Regions from separate parts of the Homo sapiens genome. Here region 1 is linked to region 2. The links are contacts of gene promoters, found by promoter capture Hi-C in human tissues and cell types (Jung and others, 2019). All regions are on one chromosome and are shown on one strand. Each heading gives the region's core, a stretch centred on a gene start or on the middle of the fragment in contact. The rest is flanking DNA. Distances are from core to core; before and after follow the strand shown. Region 1 has its middle 9.2 kb from the start of KRT85. Region 2 holds the start of KRT73 (keratin 73).

Region 1 (2,743 bases), core at 65-2,564, 260 kb after region 2:
CTACTCCTCAGCCCTGTCCAACCCCTCCATGCGGTGCTCATCCTCCCAGTCATGGACTCCACCCCAAGGAGACAAGTCTACCCTCTGAGGCAGCCCAGAGACACTCTCTCCTACATACCCCTTGTGGACACATAGGCCATCCCACATCCCTCCTCCCATTTGCCTTTGCTCAGGGCCCTCCTCTGCTCCCCAAAGCTACCACCCTCACCCCTACACCCCCCAGCCCTCCCCCGCCCCCATCATATAGTGTCTGGAACCCTGAGAATCTCTGGTTTTGTCTCTGCGGATCTGGGCCAGGGATGTCAACGGGTGTGTCTGGATCAAGCTGGAAATTCCATAAGGACAGGAAGTATCTCCTCCTGGCTCTGACCTCCCACTGAGTCCCAGGATGGGGCTCCAAGATATGCCAGGCCTGGGATGTGCTGGATGAATGCAGGCAGCTGGTGCAGCAGGAGGTAGAGACATCCAGTCCTCTTGCCCTCAGCTCCATCTCCCCATTAGCTGTCACCGTCATCAAGCAGGTGTCTGCCAGCCCCCTGCTGCCCCATCCTGCAGCCTCTTTCTCTGAGAGGAGAAGATAGGGCCTTGTGCATCCTCACTTTAGGCCCAAAGGGCTGTAGCCCCACTGGAGGCTGCTGGCTGCTTCTGAGTGCTTAGGCTGCTGCTCTGTTTGAGGTTTGCTGGCTGACACCTGGCGGGCCTCCTCCAGGTCTCTTGCCTGCTGCCTCCTTTTTCCCAGCTGTTTGGGCCCTGAGGGCATGGTGACAATCACAATAGGCCAACTTTCAATTTAGGGGACATCATTCACCCACAGGAAACGTTAAATCCCAGGGGCTGAAACATCAGGAAATGGAAATTTGAGCCCCAATTCTGCCAAGACTGCCAGGTCTCGGTGAGTCCTTGGGCAGGAAGTGGCTTTCATGCTTTGCATGTCAGTCTGGGGTCTATGAGATGAGTGGGTAGAGTCCTTACCAGGTCTGCTGCCTCCTATGGTTCTGAGATGCTACAGAGAGTCTATGCTTGGGGAAAACAGCTTCATGTTACCATGGATCTGGGCTGAGCAAAACAAAAATGCCAAATCTGATACCCAAAAAATAACGGCACCATGGATTGAAAAGTCAAACAGCCAGAACCTGGGAGATAGGAATGAATTTTTTAATACATTTCCGTGCTTTGTGTGCAAATACCATTCAACAGATTCAGCTGGCCAGAGGTGCCTTTTGCTTATGGGGAGGTAAGCCTCTGCCCCAGCCCTCCTTGCAGCCAACAGCAAAAACCCACCACAGCAAGCTCTTCTGGCTCAAAGGATGCTGGGGCTCCTGCAGCTCTCTCCTGATCAAAGAACTATTCCCCTCGGAATGCAAAGGGTACAGTCCAAGGGTAACTAAGGATTAACATTTTATTAGAAAGAAAAAATTCTGAAGAAGTCAAGTGACCTGAAATTGAGAGATCGAGGAAAAGCCAGAAGTTCAAGAGGCCCAAACAATAAAGTGGGCCATGGGAGTGATCCCAGATCTCTGCCCTGGGCTCCTTCCTGCTTAGAAACATCACAAACCAAGCTAACACCAGCATCAGAGAAAATCAGACCTGCTGTCTGTATTCAATTCTTATGTAAATGTTAGTGATATCCTTCCCCACAAACACACAAAGCTTCCAGAGGATTAGAAGTATGGATAATAACCTGTTCAAAGAAACAGGTACGCTTGGGATTTGTCATCTTTTCCTTTCTCCTGAAACCACTAACACTCCACCACCAATTCTCAACCCACTCTGCTTCAACCCATCCTCACAAACACCTATGCCCAAGAGAGTTCCTTCCCCCAGCCCGTGTCTCTAACTGTTCCCTGCTTCAATCTTTGGGATCTCAGAAAATAGAATTTTGTGTTACTACTCACATTAGCCAAGCATAGTGAGGAACACAAATTAACCATATTATCAAGAAAATTACCAAGTATGTTCTGTGTAGACACGGACATGACCATGTGGGACTTAATGTCCCCTTGTCTGGGTTATTCACACTCCTGTCTCTCTCTGGGAACATGAGCATTAGGAAGTGACTGTACTAAGTGTTTTGCTCATTGAGGATCAGAGCAACAACGACATGGGCACTAAGCGCCACACTCCTTGGGTGTAGGGACATGCCAGGCAGAACAAGCAATGGGAGAGGCTTATTTCACAGAGCCTCAGGCCACCTTCCTGCCTCCCCCAACCCCCAACCCCCAACCTGTGCATGCCTGGAAATCCCTGCTCATTTCCGCTTTGTTCAAAAACCGAGGGCTCCCCCATGTTGGCAGGGGAGCAGCCAGGGAGTGGGGTGAGGCGGGGACAGCATGATAAGCTTACGCATTAAAAATGAAGAAAATACCCAAGGCATTCATAGACAAATAGCCACCCTCCACCACCATCAAAAGGAAACACAGACCCTTCCCCAGTCCACAGTCCCATGCCCCAGGGCAGCCAATGCCCCCTGAGACACCGTTTCCTCCTCAGAGTCACTCTGGTGACCCTTTTAACCTGGCTTTACTGCTGCTCAAACTTGGTGGGATCCGGACTGTGATGGGCAGGCCCCTGCAAGACCCTTTGGTCCGGGAGACAGAGACAAGGGAAGCACCACCCTACTAAGATAGACCTCTGTCCGCCCAGGTCAAGTCACTGCCTGGCCATTGTGGTCACTGAAACAGAGTCTGAAGACATCAGAAGAACTGCGTGGCCGAGGAGAACCATTCAAAGGCTCTTCTCTGTT
Region 2 (2,725 bases), core at 220-2,719:
ATCAAAGAAAATGATTATTCTTAACTAGAAAACAACCATATTGTATAAAACAGAGGGGAGGTTGAATTTGGCAATTGCTTAGTACAACAATTTTAGAGGCATATCATAACCTCTATACAGAAATAGAAAAGAAGGATGGGCCAACTGTTCATTCAAGTACTCCAGCTAGTGAAATACTTGTGTTTTTATGGAGGAAATTCTATACTATGGATATATTTGGGATTTGGGATTTGGGAAACTCTTGGGTCACATACTTTGGCAATGTCAAGGATCCATGAAATTCAAATGTCTTCCCCTACCTCCCCATCTCCAAAATTGTGAGCTAGGTTTGGTCTTCATAATTCGGGACCCAAGAGCCTAGCACAGTACCTGGGAGAGAGTCAGCCCTCAAGAGAAGTCTGTTAAACGAATGGATAAATGAATGAACAAGTAGATGGCTGGCTGGCTGGTTGGACGGATAGATGGACGAATGAATAAGGCGGGCATAGCTCTGAATGTGGAGTCAGAAGACCAGCCAAGGGAGTCCTCAAGGCTGGGGCCTGTGCTTTTTGGGGGCATTTTCATTCTCTGGGATTCACACAAAGAAAGGACTCACTAAATGTTTGCTAAAGGAATGACATCCTCAATTATCTGAACCTTGGTTTCCCCATTTGTGTAATGTGGATCATCACCATTCCCCTCCATGCAGACTAAGTGGATTAAATGAGCTTCTTGTGTGAGGAGCTCTGTTACACTGTAAAGTGCTGCACCAGTGTCAGCCATCGTGAATGGTGCAATGACCATAATTTCAAGGTCAAGAGTCAGGGTAGTGGGATGGTAAAGGGAAAAAGAAGTCAGTGTGTGCAAAGGAAGGTGAGCAGGGCAGCCCGGCTGGCACAGAGGAGCAGGAGAGCTGCCTGGGAGGGCACAGCAGGGGGCTGGCAGCCAGAGGCTGGTCCTGGATTCCCAGTGTGCTCCTCTCCTATGGCCCTGGCCAGCCATCAAACCTGTCTCCAGGAACTCTGGGAAGCCAGGCAGCAGCAGCCTCTTCTTAACCACATAAAAGCAGCTCAGCCAGGGTCCCTGAAGCAGCCCATCTGATGCTGGCATGGTTGTGAGATTTCTAACAGATGACACTGTCAATTAAAGGTCTCCCCTCTGTACCCCTACAATCCCAGGCCCCACCACTCCCTGGGGAACAGCAATTGAGACTGCGACAAACCTCCCACCTAAGATCTTTCTATGGATAATGTGCCCATGCTAATTACACATGTTCATTAGATAAAACTCAAATTACATGAGCAAGACTTGCAAGACTAGCACTTTGGGAGTTTTCAAGTCATTTACCTGGTGTCTGATTTTGCTGGGAGAAAATGATTTCTTGCTTCCAGGCAAACTGAACCCACAAATTAGGCCCATGGCTCCCTCTTGAGTCCTATAAAGTGGGAGCCCAGGATCACAGGCTGGTGAACTGCATCTCAGCTAAGGGTCAGCATCTTATCCCCACTTTCTGGCCTCCCCACCATGAGCCGCCAATTCACCTACAAGTCGGGAGCTGCTGCCAAGGGGGGCTTCAGCGGCTGCTCCGCTGTGCTCTCAGGGGGCAGCTCATCCTCCTACCGAGCAGGGGGCAAAGGGCTCAGTGGAGGCTTCAGCAGTCGGAGCCTTTACAGCCTGGGGGGTGCCCGGAGCATCTCTTTCAATGTGGCCAGTGGCAGTGGGTGGGCAGGAGGCTATGGATTTGGCCGGGGCCGGGCCAGTGGCTTTGCTGGCAGCATGTTTGGCAGTGTGGCCTTGGGGTCCGTGTGTCCGTCGTTGTGCCCGCCCGGGGGTATCCATCAGGTCACCATCAACAAGAGCCTCCTGGCACCCCTGAACGTGGAGCTGGACCCTGAAATCCAGAAAGTGCGTGCCCAGGAGCGGGAGCAGATCAAGGTGCTGAACAACAAGTTCGCCTCCTTCATTGACAAGGTGGGTCTTTCTGGAGAAAGCTGATCTTGGGCTCCCCTTTTAAGGACTCAGGAGGGAGCCACTGCCCTAATTTGTGGTTCAATTTGCCTGAGAGCAAGAAATCATTTTCTCCCAGCAAAATCAGACACCAGGTAAACAACTTGAAAGCTCCCCAGGTGCTGGGCCCATAAGGCTTGCTCATGCCGTAGAGCCCCTTCCTTCCCCCGCCTTCATTGTCCTTGGGGTGCTCCCTGTCTGAAGCAGACGAAGGCAGGACACCTCCCCAGGATGCAGACATAGCCCAGGGAGGAACTGGACAAAGCCTGGACATCAGAGGCAAGGGACCAGGGTTGGAGGGGTGAGAGGAGCCAGCAGCCTAGCCCAGGAAGGTGTCCAGGAAGCAATGAGAGCGGTCTCTGAGTTGAGAAGTAGCAGAGTGACAGCCTGTGAGACTTAGAAGCTAGGCGAAGGAGATGCCCTTGACAGCCTGGGGCATCTAGACTGCCATGCGACCCAGCTGTTCCTCCTGTGTCCCCTGAAAGCTCAGACTCAGTCCGTAACACACACAGCCTATGAGGCAAGGCAGCTGGAGGTCACGGTGCCCTAGAGCAGTGGTTCTCAAAGGTGGCCCTGGAACCAGCAGCAGCAACGTCACCTGGACGCTTGTTAGAATGCACACTCTCAGGCTCCACCCCAGAGCAACTGAATCAGAGACTCTGCAGCAGGGCCCAGCACCCTGCATTTTAACAAGCTCTCCAGGTGATGCTGATGTACACTCAGGTTTGAGAATCACTGA

The links. Contacts are between HindIII fragments. The study calls those that stand out against the background at their distance.
Region 1: a fragment that was not itself captured here is called in contact with the fragment with the promoter of KRT73 in region 2 in 2 of the 25 tissues and cell types used here (spleen and thymus).

Annotation. Positions count from the first base shown.
Region 1 is chr12:52,356,904-52,359,646 of GRCh38, reverse strand. No RefSeq gene overlaps it. Among named protein-coding and RNA genes, the nearest start is that of KRT85, 9.2 kb to the left of the region's middle. The HindIII fragment of the contact is 6,815 bases long and covers 1-2,743 here.
Region 2 is chr12:52,617,303-52,620,027 of GRCh38, reverse strand. KRT73 (keratin 73) reads left to right here and starts at 1,469. Exons shown (of 9, transcript NM_175068.3): 1 at 1,469-1,950. The coding sequence starts at 1,504. The HindIII fragment of the contact is 11,365 bases long and covers 1-2,725 here.